Linked DNA regions of Homo sapiens: region 1 is linked to region 2. The links are contacts of gene promoters, found by promoter capture Hi-C in blood cells and fetal thymus (Javierre and others, 2016). All regions are on one chromosome and are shown on one strand. Each heading gives the region's core, a stretch centred on a gene start or on the middle of the fragment in contact. The rest is flanking DNA. Distances are from core to core; before and after follow the strand shown. Region 1 overlaps PHAF1 (phagophore assembly factor 1). Region 2 holds the start of CDH16 (cadherin 16).

Region 1 (7,571 bases), core at 2,969-5,468, 210 kb after region 2:
AAGAAGCACAAATGAAATGGGATGGGAGGCTGGGGGGAGAGAGAAAAAGGATAAGAGGGTCATCTCATAATCAGATCACAATATATTTCTTTGTCCTAGAATTTGATCTAAACCATCAAAGAATAAAAATGTGTTCCCTGTGGATGGTACAAACAGCCTGAGTGTGAATGGATGTAGGTTCAGCTGATAGGCATAAGCAATATCTGCTGAGTTTAGATCCTGGACTAGGCCTTTTCACATGACCTGTATTCCTCACCAACTGCTCTGTAGGTTCGATGGCAGTGAACTTCATTTTGCAGATGTGGACCCTGGAGCCTGAAAGGAGAATGACCTGTATACTCATATAACTTTGTCCCTTTTCCCCAGGTATTTTTACTCAAGCCCAGAAGGGAGAGGCTCTTTTCAGCCGATATTAAGAAACAGCAGCTGCAGGCTAGAAGTAAAAAACACCATATGTTCATGCAGCAGTTTTTTTCTGGTTTCCAAGCACCATTAGCTGGAGGAGAGAGGGACTGTCTGCACTTAGATATTCCTTGTGTGTTGCATTTGTATTGTAAGGCTTTCAGTAGGTGCTTAGTGAATAAATCAGTTACTCAGAATGTATTTTATTTTTGTTTTGTAGTCTCCTCTAAGCCATGACCTCATTCTTAACCTGACTCAGGACGGGATCAAACTAATGTTTGATGCTTTCAATCAGAGACTTAAGGTAACTATAAATGACAACTAATGTTTCATGTCCAGCTGGGCCAGTCTTTCTGGAGCTAATTAGTATGTGCTATTGTGAGATGTTTCAAAACTTATAAGTAGGTGTGGACTTCTTTGGTTCAGAGATCACTACAATGTAGGGAACTGAAGCTGTGCCTGTTCCCCTAAAAAGAGGGAAGATGGAAGTGGGTTGGGATGGTCAGAAAGAGGCTGGGAAGGGCTGCTTTCCCAGGCTCCAGAGGGGAAGGTGAAAGAGTGTTGAAGATTTGGGAAACATGCTGTGGGGAGGGGGCTTTCATGTCCAGTAGGAAAACAAGATAGTTTTACTTCATTCTTTTGTCAAACACTGTAACTTGGTTAGAAAATGGAAACTGTTCTTCCTAGAATGCTGGGGCTTGGGTTAACAATACCAGCAATGAGTTGATTCTTTAACCCTGGGGAGGAAATGTAAAAAAACAACTTACTAATATGTAGGGCTATCTTAATTGGCATTTGAGTGCAATTTGCTAACACCTGTTTGAGTCCAGTCTGGTTTTCTTTGTTTTTGTTTTTGGTTTTTTTTTTTTTTTTTGAGATGAGGTCTAGCTCTGTCACCCAGGCTGGAGTGCAGTGGCTTGATCTTGGCTCACTGCCACCTCCTGGGTTCAAGCGATTCTTCTGCCTCAGCCTCCTGAGTAGCTGGGACTACAGGTGCACGCCACCACGCCCAGCTAAATTTTTGTATTTTTAGTAGAGATGGGGTTTTACCATGTTGACCAGGCTGTTTTCGAACTCCTGACCTTGTGATCCGCCCACCACAGCCTCCCAAAGTGCTGGGATTACAGGCGTGAGCCACCATGACCAGCCCAGTCTTTTTTTTTTTTTTGAGACAGAGTCTCACTGTGTCACCCAGGCTGGCGTGAAGTGGTGCAATCTTGGCTCACTGCAACCTCTGCCTCCCGGGTTTAAGCAATTCTCCTGCCTCAGCCTCCTCAGTAGCTGGGACTACAGGTGCGTGCCACTACGCCCAGCTAATTTTTTGTTTCACCATGTTGGCCAGGCTGGTCTTGATCTCTTGACCTCGTGATCCGCCCGCCTCGGCCTCCCAAAGTGCTGGGATTACAGGCATGAGCCACCGCACCCAGTTCAGTCTGTTTTTGATATACCCTGTTTACAAATGCCTGGGCCTCACAGGTTAGTCATGTGACACCAGAGTCATGCCTCAAAGTCATGAGGTTGGATGGGCCCTGGGCAGTGGCATGCCAGAGTTGTTGTCCTTCTTGGGTTATGGAGTAGCCTTTCCAAAAGACTTGGGTACTTACCAGTTCTCATCATCCTTGTCACAAGTGAACTGCTAAGGAGAGAAAACAAAACATGGAAAGAGAATCAGTATGTGGAATTAGAATTCCTCATTCTATCCTGTCTCCATGGCCAGAAGTTCCACACTGGGAAAGGGCAGAGGATGATCTTCAATATCGCATAATCACAAATTGGAGCCGGGTGCAGTGGCTCACGCCTGTAATCCCAGCACTTTGGGAGGCTGAGGCGGGTGGATCACGAGGTCAGGAGATCGAGACCATCCTGGCTAACACGGTGAAACCCCGTCTCTACTAAAAATACAAAAAATTAGCTGGGCATGGTGGCAGGCGCCTGTAGTCCCAGCTACTTGGGAGGCTGAGGCAGGAGAATGGCGTGAACCCGGGAGGCAGAGTTTGCAGTGAGCTGAGATCGCACCACTGCACTCCAGCCTGGGCAACAGAGCAAGACTCCGTCTCAAAAAAAAAAAATTGGGGGGAAATTAATCTGGTAACATGGAAATTTCTTTACAAGTAGTCATTTCCCTTTGACTTGGTAAAAGTCCACTTTAGAAAATGTAACCCAGAAACACTGGGGGAAGGTAACGGTATTTCATGGTAATGAGAAGCTGGAAGTAACCTAAATGGGCAACAAAAGGGATGTCCAGCAGCCCATAAAATCACAGCATGGTGAAGACAATGTCATATGTTTAGTGAGTGCTTAGTATATGCTAGGCACATGGCTGGGTGTTTCACATGCGTTTTCTAGTTTAATCCTAACCCGCCTGTGAAGTAGGTACTGTTTACTAGCAAGAAAACCGAGGGACAGAGAGGATAAGTAGTCTACCTGATGCCAGGCTTTTAACTGGATATTGGCAATATGTGGTGGCTGACCACTTAGGCTCTGTTGATGGATCTGGGAAATAAATAAGAAAAGCTGAAGAAATGTACAGAAATATGAGGAATGGGAGGTACCTTTGGATAGGAAAGGAGATAAAATCAAACCGGCAATCCTCTTCTGCCTTCTGTGGGATCCCCATGAAGGAGAGACTGGGGTCCTGCCTGAGTCTTCTGGAAACTGAGCAAGTAATCACCCAGGTGTTTTTGATTGGCACCAGCCTGACCTGACCTATCTTCCTGCCCTTCCATCCAACACCTTCAGAATCCACCTCTTCTGATGCTGCCTCCTATAGTTGCTTCCCACCCCCTGCCTCAAGCCTAAGAGAGACAGCCCTGTGGAATGAGGCTTTATAAGTCACAACCTTTACAGCCACCTGTCTTTTCCATTTTTATCTTGGCTGCTGCCACATCTCTTCCCCTCTGGGGAAATCAGGAGCTTCTGTAGCCCAGAGATGGAAAATCATGGGCTTTAGCCTTCCCAGCTGCTTGTCCCTGTAGTGCAGCAAGCTCCAAGAGATGAAATCTGCTTATTGATGCTCCTAGTGACATGAAGGACTCCAGGATGGCCAGCACTCTGGGTCCATTGCCACAAGTGCTGCTTCGTGCCCTGTGATTAGCTCTGGTCCACTGTTTTCCCATTGATCAGGCAGGGTCGAAGCACCTATATGTGTTGGACCCGTATAGCTGTTGGCAGGTGGGGTGCCAGTGATACAGGAGGAACATCGTGCAGGCTCACTTCCACAGGGCGGGTGGTGGGAAGCTTTGGGGGATGACTGGCCAGCTGTAGGGATAGAAGTGAGGGAGGTGAGTGCCTGTGCCTGCTATGAACAGGAGGGCTTCTGGCTGAAGGTAGAGGCTCTCTGCTAGACAAGGCTCTGGCCTCAGTGAAATGGCATGCCAGTTTGGCATGATATATTCCCATGCCCAGATATTCTGAAGGGGACACTGGCTATCTTCTGAATCATAGCTGTTCCCCTGCCCTTCCTTCCACAGCCCCTCCTGGCACTTCTTTTCATGCTTTCAAGCTTCATACCAGGCAGAATTGCCTAACATGAATTGAACACCTTCCCTATGCAAATTAATGAGTCCCTCAAGGGGCTTAACTTATTGGACCACTTAACAGAATACACAAGTATGGAGGAAAGGATTCATTCCAGTGCTGTGACGGCCTAGCAGAGGGAGCAGTTCTTTCTAGCAGATAGGATCAAAAGAGCTACATTATAGTCAAGAGGTATCCAATTTGGTTCAGTGTTGTGGTCTCTAAATAAAGTTAGGGATAGGGTCTCTGGCCAAAAGCGAACCTACTATCTATTATGTCTCAGTTTCTTTGGCAGTGCCAGATGTTCCTGCATACAATGCCCCACAGCCTCTTCCACAATCAGGCTCAGATTGGCAGGACAAACAGATATTGAGCCAGCTCTGCTTGTGTCTCCACAATGAGAGCAAAACCTCCCAGCTGGAGGATGGTAGATGGTGCTCCGAGCCCCTACCTGTGCTGCTGGCTGCCAAGCCCTTGACACCATTGCATGGAGGACTTCATAGTGCTTATTACTTGGCACCACTGATGGCGGAGTGTTAGGTGATGCCTATTCCTTTATCTCTGCCCTGCCCTGAGTTCTTAGAATTTCATCTGAGGCTGAACCCATTAAAGAGCAAGCTTCACAAAGGTCCTGAGGCTTTCTTGTTTCAACCAGATCCTCTTCATCAGGGACATAACTGAATACTGTCACACTTGTGTGACAAATATTATGGCTTGCTTTCTAATGGGATAGACCTCCCCCTCCATCTTTTTGTTTTGTAAACAAAATCAACTTCAAAATAAGCTATTTTCTTTCTTTCTTTCTTTCTTTTGGAGGAGTCTCGCTCTGTCGCCCAGGCTGGGGTGCAGTGGCGCAATCTCCGCTCACTGCAAGCTCTGCCTCCCGGGTTCACGCCATTCTCCTGCCTCAGCCTCCTCAGTAGCTGGGACTACAGGCGCCCACCACCACGCCTGGCTAATTTTTTGTATTTTTCAGTAGAGACACGGTTTCACCGTGTTAGCCAGGATGGTCTCAATCTCCTGACCTTGTGATCCGCCCGCCTCGGCCTCCCAAAGTGCTGGGATTATAGGCGTGAGCCACCGTGCCCGGCCTTTTTTTTTTTTTTTTTTTTGAGACGGAGTCTCGCTCTGTCACCCAGGCTGGAGTGCAGTGGCGCAATCTCAGCTCACTGCTACCTCCAACTCCTGGGTTCAAGCGGTTCTCCTGCCTCAGCCTCCACAGTAGCTGGGATTACAGGTGTGTGCCACCACGCCCAGCTAATTTTTGTATTTTTGGTAGAGACAGGATTTCACCATGTTGGTCAGGCTGGTCTGGAACTCCTGACCTCAGGAGATCCACCTACCTGGGCCTCCCAAAGTGCTGGGATTATAGGCGTGAGCCACCGTGCCCGGCTAAAATAAGCTATTTTCTAAAGCAACCCGACCTGGGTTTTAAAATGCAGCAAAATATGAGATGGGAGGAAGGGGGCTTAGTGCCCAAAGCAGAGCCTTAACAAGCTTCATGTCTGTGGAAGAGATCATTGTCCTATAGGGTGGTGTGTGCTCCAGCCTGACCCAGAAGTGGACTGCATGTAAGAGCCTTGACCCAGAGCATCCATGGACATCTGTTGAGCAGTCCACTAGGAGAGGGAAGCTAAGAGGTTATGCTGAAGGGGACACTGGCTATGGTTATGCTGAAGGGGAAACTGGTTTTTTCCCTGGTTTCAAAATAACAAAGGACTGTCATGGTGGCTCATGCTTGTAATCCCAGCACTTTGGGAGGCTAAGACAGGAGGATCATTTGAGCCCAGGAGTTTGAGACCAGCCTGGGCAACATAGTTTTTTAGTTTTGCTAAGATTCTATCTCTACAAAAAGTTTTTAAAAAAATTTTAAATGAGAACAAAAGATAACATGCAGTGCTTCCATAAAATTTCTATTGGTAATAGTTTTTTTTTTTTTTTTTTTTACTATTTATTCTATAAATGTATTTTTAATCATTTTTAGTCTGTCATCACTTTCAGAGCATTGACAACTCTTAAACTTTTTTTTAGGTGATCGAAGTATGTGATTTGACTAAAGTAAAGTTAAAATATTGGTAAGTTTTCTCCCCTGCTGGTATATGTCACACTTGGTATAGACAGGCCATATCTACTATCTTCATAAGTTAGTAAAGATTCACATCTGTCACAGATGTGAATTATAGCCTGGTGCCATGAATTCCTGAGGCAACCTTCAAGCCTGCTCAGTTTCCTGGAGAAGAGAAGTAAACCTCATTAAGAATATGTGATGTGTTTAACACTTCATGTATATGTCATCTAACTTAATCCACTTGACAAAGCCAGACCTCAGCTCAGAGGTGATGTGACAGTCTCCTGGGTCATAGCTGCCCTCCCGCTGACAGCCTCTCTTGGCACCTCTTTTCATGTTTTCATGAGTAACAGAGGTGGGACAAACCAGATAGGTCTGACTCCAAAGCCTATGCTGAAGAGAATGCCAAAGAGACCACCATTTTAGAGCTATAATGTATTTTTTAGAATTACAGCGGGGATGACATGCACAGTCCAAAGTTGTTGCGCCCCCATTATGGCAAGGCAGCATGCCTGCATCTAAAAATCTAGAATACTCCTTCCTTTCTTTCTTTCTTTCTTTTTTTTTTTTGAGACGGAGTCTCTCTCTGTCACCCAGGCTGGTGTGCAGTGGCGCCATCTCAGCTCACTGTAACCTCCACCTCCTGGGTTCAAGCGATAGAATACTCCTTTCAGTAAGTCTCCTTAACTGGCTTCCCTTTCCCTTTTTGAGGGTGTGAAGAGGACCTGATTCCTGGGGCAGGCTCAGGCAGTTTTGCTGATAGAGGAGTAGACAAGCAAATGTGTGGTACCACTGGCCCCTGCAGGTTCTAGTTGTCTTTTAGTTTTACTGGGGCCTTCATACCTCAGGGTCTGGTGGCTTCTCTTCTCTACCCTTTTCTTAAGAGTCACTGGTGTCATAAAGCCCCAGAGGATCAACTCTGTATATCAGCCTCATGAGAACTGACCTTCTCCTGACCTCATTAATGCTCTTATTTAAAAGTTCTCTAATTAAGCTTTGTATTTTGATATAATTAGAGACTCACCTGCCTGTGTCTTAAAAATAACTCTCCCAGCTACTATCTCACATGATCTGTGGGCCCATCTTGTGAAGCCTAGTATTAAAAAATATTTTTGTTTTTCAGTGGCGTGCATTTTAATTCTCAGGCCATAGCTCCTACCATTGAACAGATTGACCAGTCTTTTGGCGCAACCCATCCTGGAGGTAAGCCAAGTCCATCTGATTCCTCTGGTCATCAGTGGCAGTTCATAGCAATAAACCTGCCCGGTAGTGCCATCCCACCCCACTTCCTGGAGTCAGGCTCCCATAGGATTGTGGGGTTGGTACTTGGGTGTGAAGGAAACATCCTCCCCCTTGTTTTCAACCTAGTAGGCCAGTTTAGAAACAAGCCACAGGGAAGGTGTTGTCAGTCATTACTCCCTGCCAGGCTGGTTTATGTTAGCCATTTCAGATGCCAGTCAACCATGTTATTTTCTTCTCCCCCACCCCCAACAGTGTACAACTCCGCTGAGCAGCTCTTCCATCTCAACTTCAGAGGACTGTCTTTCTCTTTTCAGTTAGACTCATGGACTGAGGCTCCAAAGTA
Region 2 (6,914 bases), core at 713-3,212:
GACTCACACTGGGCTCTTGGCCACTCAAGGATTCTGTCGGAATTTCACCTCTGTACTGTCAGCTCCTTCTGGCCATAGCCTCCCCAGCTCGCAAATCCCAAAGTGGTAATCCCAGCACTTTGGGAGCCCAAGACGGGCGGCTCACCTGAGGTGAGGTGTTCAAGACCAGCCTGGCCAACATGGCGAAACCCTGTCTCTACTAAAAATACAAAAAAAAAAAAAAAAAATTAGCCAGGAGTGGTGGTGCATGCCTGTAGTCCCAGCTACTCAGGAGGCTGAGGCAGGAGAATCTCTTGAACCCAGGACGTGGAAGTTGCAGTGAGCTGAGAACATGCTACTGCACTCCAGCCTGGGCGACAAGAGCGAAACTTCGTCTCAAAAGAAAAAAAAATGTATAACGTTACCTTCAGGCTATGTGTATAAGATGTATATGAAACATAAATGAATTTCCTATCTAGATTTGGGTTCCATTCCCCAAGATATCTCATGATATATATGCAAATATTCCAAAATCTGAAGAAAAAAAAAAATCCAAAATCTGAAACACTTCTGGTCCCAAGCATTTCAGATAGGGGACACTCAACCTGTGTAACGTGTACATACTCTCTGGAAAGCAGGATTTCAAAGAGAAACAGCAAGAGGAAGGGTGCCAGAGGAAGGAGAAGCAGGACTTTGCGGGGAGGGATCCCCCCGGCCCCAACCCCAGCTCTCCGGCTCACCTTGGTCAGGTATAAAGGGAAATTTCCACCATAGTTTTCTGGAACTTCCACAGACAGCTCTGCAGGCTGGGCCTTGGGGAGAGCCTGTGGGAGGATTCTCACCTTGTCACCAGGCTCTATCTTCCTGCGTGGGCACTGAGACCCAACAGAAGAGCGGAATTTCCGCCCCTTCCCAGGGCCTGGCTGTACCTTAGTCCATCCACCCGCGCTCTGGTCTTTGACCTCCTCATCCCACAGTGGCTCTATAGTCCCAGCTCTGACCCCTCCCATGCCTTGCACCGTTCTCACGGTCAGTGCAATTGGTCCAGGTGGAGTTGGGGGCAAGGGTGTCAACCCCCAAAGCCAAGACCTGAAGGAGAGGGGGCAGGGCCTAGCTCACCTGGGGGACGGAGACACAAAGCAGCCACAGCCAGGCAGGGACCATGGTCAGGACAGGCCTGAGGGACACGGCAGTGAGGATCCAGCCCAGGTGGGTAGGGAGGGGCTTTCCATCCCACACACACAACTAGTGGGATCGTACTGCAGACTAGTCTTCTCTTCCTCCCCTCCAAAGGAGCTGAGGCTCTCCATCTCCTGCAGGGTAGTGCCCTGCTCCTCGGCCAGGCCCACCAAGGCCCCCAGGCCCAGCCACCCTGCTTCTAGGCTCTTGGTCCATCAAGCACTCTATCAGAATTTCACCTCCAGACCTCCAGCTCCTTCTCACCATAGCCTCCCCAGGCCGCAGATCCCAAAGTGGTAATTTTCTAGCAATCCCCCAAATCACAAAAGTTTGAAGCTGGAAAGTTCCTGAAGACTTGGAGGGTCACTTCCTGAAGTCACCTCTTGTTGCAGGCAAGGCCTGAATGCTGGGGTCTGGCCAAGGTCACAGAGGACTTGACCACAGGAGGAGTCCTCCTAGCTCAGGGCCTCTGGGACTGTCCTGCCTCCCACTGCCACCTTCTAGACAAGGAGAACCCCCGGAGCAGGAGCCCGGCCCTTGTCTCATCATTTTCCAGCCCTTGTCATGGAGCTGGGCAGGCAGAGCAGCGACAAATCGACAACCCCTCTAAGATGAGGCCCTGGGAATTCTTTCCCAGATGGCGAGGACAGGGCAGTGTTTCTCCTTTCCCCACCACCAACCTCAGCCTCAGCCATGCCCTCCCCTCCACTCCCAGCCCCTCACCCTCCAGCGCCCAAGACTGGCTCCCTTGGTCCAGCTGCCAAGCAAGAAGAGAGCTCCTTCTCCAGGGGGCTCTGGCCAGGCTGGGCTGGGTGGGGCAAGGCAGGGCACTTGAGCAGGTAGGAGGGTTCAGCCACGCTTGCTCAGGAGTGGAAAAGGCCACTGGGCCCACAGCAGCAGGCCTGGCCCCGCCCAGCCCCCCAAGTTACTCATTGACTTTGGAAAGCCAGGAGCTGCTCAGCATCCGTGACTGCCAGCTCCAGGAGGTGGGGAGATGGTTGGCCTGGCACTCCCTCGACCCCAGCACAGCCCAGGAGGTATTCCTTGGCCCTCTGGTTCTGGACGTTACTTTTTCTGTGGCTCCAGACTTGGTCTGACTTATCTCCCAGGCTCCAGTGTCTGCAGCCACACCTTTTCACACTCTGTTCCTTTTGCATGGAACACCCTTCCCACTCATTCATCTGTGTGGTAAGCACCTGCTCATGCATGCTTCAGTGCTCAGCTCAAATATTCCTTTTTCCAGGAAACTTCCCCTATGTTCCCAGGCTTGTTCAGGAGCCTCCTCTGGGAATGCCCCTCCCCCTCACACCATGCCATGTGCTATCTCTATTAATACACAGAGGACACCAGCTTGTCATTGTCTGCCTCTTCCATTAGATTGGGAGCCCTTTGAGAGCAGAACTCAGGGACTCAGGAATGACCTGGCTCTCATTCTGCCCTGGCAGCTCCGCATGGCTTGTGGAACTAAGACAAGGAGCTGGAGGTTGCAAAGGATGGGTGAGCAGTACATGAGTGGAAGTGGGTATTGGGGCTCCAGACCACCCCCCCCAGGGGGACCTGTGGTGGGGGAGTGCAGCAGCCTATGAGCTCCCGAAGTCCTTACACTGGCCACTCAACAGTGACAGGGCTGAGACAGTGGGCAGTCTCATGCCCCTAAGAAGATTAAACTGGCTCAGGTGACCTTGAGGGAGTTGCAGGGCTGAACAGGGGCTCTCCCCGCAATGAGGGCAGCCAAGCAGAGCCAGGAGATGCTTCTGGGGCCTGGGAGTCTGGAATGAGGGGAGAGGGTGGGAAGAAGGTCTCCAGTCCCTCTCCAGCCTTGGAGCTTCCCATGGTCCCCACGAAGTCCTTCCCACTGTACATCTGATTAGTCTCTCTCAGGCCAGAAGCTACCCCCAGCTGCCCCCAGCCTTGTCACAAGCTGAGTGCCTGCTTCAGGGTCACTCTGGCACCCAGCCTGGAGCAGTGTAGTGTGGGGAGGTTGAAGGGGGTTTCACACGTGTTAAGCTCCTGCTCTGTGCCCAGCACTGCTCTGAGCACATACCTTCATTATGCCACATACTGCGTTCTGAAGGGGCATTGGGCACATGCTGGGGCACAGAGAAGCTGAGTGGTTTGCCTAGGGTCACACAGTCAATAAGTGACAGAGCCAGGAAGGCCTGGGGACCCTCACTTGATCTGAAAATACCATGCCTTCTGCATTCCTTGAAGTATGTGGGGAGGAGGGGCAGAGCAGCAACAGCTCTGAGCAGTTACCTCTGCCCTGGGGAGCACGTGGGTGAATCTCAGCGCTCCCCTGTACATGGAGGGGCAGCCCTCAAGCCTCCTCCTGCCATTCAATAAGCTGCAATCAGGATTCTAACCAGGTTGCCAGGGCTCCCTGGAGTCTGTGGAATGAATAAATTGAATAAATTGAACTAAGGAAGGAATGTATGGACCTTGGCCCAGAACCTTCTTAGAAACTGCCCCCCACCTTGCCCCAGGCTGCCTCCAGGCTTTGGAGATGGGCAGACCTGTATACCAGTCCCCACTCAGCCACTTCCCACCCAGCACCAGATGGGGATGGTTTTTCCTGAGACCATGTAGATAAAAACTCTTAGCAGCACTTGTGCCGAGGGTGAGGGAATGAATAAATTGAATAAATTGAACTAAGGAAGGAATGTATGGACCTTGGCCCAGAACCTTCTTAGAAACTGCCCCCCACCTCGCCCCAGGCTGCCTCCAGGCTTTGGAGATGGGCAGACCTGTATACCAGTCCCCACTCAGCCACTTCCCACCCAGCACCAGATGGGGATGGTTTTTCCTGAGACCATGTAGATAAAAACTCTTAGCAGCACTTGTGCCGAGGGTGAGGGAGCCATGGGCATGGGTGGGCAGGGAGACAGGTGCATCCCTAAACATAAGCACGAGTACACCTTCCTATACAAATGCAAGACCTCTCATTCCAGGCAGGGCGGGCTCCCGGCAGCTGTTCCCACCAAAACTGAATTAGCCAATGCTGAGCATGGAATGTTCTGGCCTGGATACTCATGGTAGAGAGAACAGTGAGTGCCTCCTCCGTAGCTCAACCCCAGTGAAGTGGTGGAGGAGCCATGTGGAGCTGTGTGTGCCTTCACAAACCACCCCTCGGAGGTCTCTATCCCCAACCTCAGCTGATTCCAGCCCCTCAAGAGGGAACAGGGCAGAAATACCAGCTGTGGAGCCAGATCCTGTCTGGTTGTGAGACCCAGGGTTCCTGCCTGGTTGTGAGACCCAGGGTTCCTGCCTGGTTGTGAGACCCAGGGCAGAATGTGCTCCCCTGAGCAGCCTGTTTCCCTTTATGGACAGTGAAGTGATTGAACCCTCAATCAGTTGGGCAACGCCAGGCCCCAGTGCAGAAAGAGAAGAATCTGGATAACAGGGACTGGGAGGGGTTTGTGTCTCCTGCTCCTTGAACCTCTAACCAGACCCGATGCCCATCCCAGCTGGCTAAATCTGGACCCTCACATTAACACATCATGGCCACACACTAGGGTGGGGCAGTGAGCCCCCATCCCTCAACTTCAGAAATCCTTCCAGCTCCTGAAGCGCCCAGATAGGAGGAAAGAGAGTCAACAGCCATGACTATCAGGAAATAGCCTTTATTACAAAAATCTGCATGTAAACAAATAGCTACCGCACTGAAGAGCCTCCCTCCAGGGCAGGCACACCCGGGCTGTGAAAAAAGGCAGAGTCCTCTCCCGGCACGCAGGCCTGCCCGGCGGCTGCGCTGCGGCTGCTTGGGACGCATATGAGCCTGCGCATGCATCTCTGTGGGCCCAGCCCTCACTGGCCCCTGAGAGCCACTTCGCAGGGCAGCACTGTCTATCTGTCCATGACCATGAGGTTGGGGGTGCCCGGCTGGCAGCTCCGAGGGACCCAGAGTCTGAGCCTGCTCTGAGGCACCCGGGGCAGTTGGCTGGGCCAGCCCACCAACCCTTCCGTTCGTCTCCCACCATAGTGGGAGCGGGTGGGACCTAGAGAACCGAGAGGTCGTGGCAGGACTTGGATTTGGCGCGAAAGGCCATCTTGCGGCTGTTACGAGCTACGATGCGGCCCAAGAAGCGCTTCGCCTTTTTGCCAAGGCTCTCTCGCCTCCGGGTGCCTGCTTGCCGTCGTGCGTTGGCTTCTTTGCTGTCCCTGCGCAGGCGTATCTGGCGCACGACACCTTCAAACAGCGCCTGGACATTGTGGTGCAATGCCGCTGATGTCTCAATGAACTTGCAGTCAAAGACCACCGCGCAGGCCCGGCCCTCTGTGTGGGTGGGGAAAGGCAGGCACCAGTAAACAAAGGGTGGGTGAATGAGGAGTCCCCTCCAACAGTGGCCACCCATGGAAGCTGCCACTCGAGAATTTGCAAGGTCCTCCCCGAAAACACAGAGACCCCAGCTCCTGTACTGAGGGTACTGGGCACTGCTGCGTCACCCAGTAGGCAGAGTGCCTGCATTTAAGGAGCCCCCAAAACAGTGGCCCTCAAAAGGAGATCCATTTATTGAAATAATTTGAAGCCTGATATTTAAACAAAGTACGACAGTAGTAAACACAGGAAAATGAGAACTATGTTGGACAACTTAGTATTTTATTTTATTTTATTTTATTTTTCTGAGATAGAGTCTCGCTGTCTCCCAGGCTGGAGTGCAGTGGCACAATCTCTGCTCACTGAAAGCTCCGCCTCCCGGGTTCACGCCATTCTCCTGCCTCAGCCTCCCGAGTAGCTGGGACTACAGGCGCCCGCCACCACGCCCGGCTAATTTTTGTATTTTTAGTAGAGATGGGGTTTCACCATGCTAGCCAGGATGGTCTCGATCTCCTGACCTCGTGATCCACCCGCCTCGGCCTCCCAAAGTGCTGGGATTACAGGCGTTAGCCACCCCCTGGCCCATGCCCCGCACAACTTAGTATTTTTTAATTCGAGGTTATATCATGATGAATGATCCAGTGGACTGGGGTTGCGGAGGCAAGGTCACCAAGTCACTGCTGGGTTCCTCTGAGGGGCTCAGTACTGGGGTCCACAGAAAAGGATGCTGAGGCCAAGTGGGAAGGGTCTTCCCCAGGGCCAAGTCTACTCTAAGAATGGCCCAGACCTAGCACACAGGCTCTGACCTCCTGGCCTGTTCCCCTACACTCTCTTCCACCCATTTACCCCCCCAACCAGCCAGGCCAGGACCAAGAGGGGCAGGAGAGGAGGGCCCTGCGGTGCCCAGCTCCCCTATCAGATTTGGTTCTTTCCCCAGCCCTCTGGGGCCTTCCGGAGCCCTGTGAGCAGGCACCAGCTCTCTCCCATTTCCCTCCCCGCCAGTTTTCTTTCTGAACATTTTTAGCCTCTGATGATCCCCAGGGACTCAAGCTGAGCCAAGACTGCCTGGATCAGGGCCCAGCTGGGCTCTCCCTCCCCCTGCAACCTGCCGCCTACTCACCATCCACCGAGACCTCACGAGAGCGCACCAGGTCGCTCTTGTTGCCCACGAGGATGATGGGCACATCATCTGTTTGCCGTGCACGCCGCAGCTGGACCCGCAGTTCTGAGGCCTTCTCGAAGCTGCCCTTGTCCGTCACTGAGTACACAATGACATAGGCATCCCCCATGGCCATGCAGTGGCCGGGCAACCAGCGGCCCCCGTCCTGGAGAACACACAACACACATCTGCCCAACAGTCCTCATGCCCCCGACACGAGCCTGGCACTCCCAGACCTCTAACCCAACTCACTCCTCCCTCCCCTGCCCTGGGTCTCTGCTT

What was found. The method cuts DNA at HindIII sites, captures the fragments that hold promoters and counts their contacts. A CHiCAGO score of 5 or more calls a contact.
Region 1: a contact is called between a fragment that was not itself captured here and the fragment with the promoter of CDH16 in region 2, in 2 of 17 cell types (erythroblasts and endothelial precursors). The highest score is 6.5, in erythroblasts.

The regions. Positions count from the first base shown.
Region 1 is chr16:67,125,337-67,132,907 of GRCh38, forward strand. PHAF1 (phagophore assembly factor 1) reads left to right here. Exons shown (of 16, transcript NM_025187.5): 3 at 623-706; 4 at 5,950-5,993; 5 at 7,110-7,189; 6 at 7,481-7,571. Among named protein-coding and RNA genes, the nearest start is that of PHAF1, 19 kb to the left of the region's middle. The HindIII fragment of the contact is 632 bases long and covers 3,903-4,534 here.
Region 2 is chr16:66,916,923-66,923,836 of GRCh38, forward strand. CDH16 (cadherin 16) reads right to left here and starts at 1,963. Exons shown (of 18, transcript NM_004062.4): 1 at 1,882-1,963; 2 at 1,099-1,156; 3 at 720-803. The coding sequence starts at 1,143. It overlaps RRAD (RRAD, Ras related glycolysis inhibitor and calcium channel regulator), which reads right to left. Exons shown (of 5, transcript NM_004165.3): 4 at 6,594-6,798; 5 at 4,763-5,431. The coding sequence ends at 5,154. RefSeq lists enhancers at 4,720-5,243, 5,244-5,767. The HindIII fragment of the contact is 16,817 bases long and covers 1-6,914 here.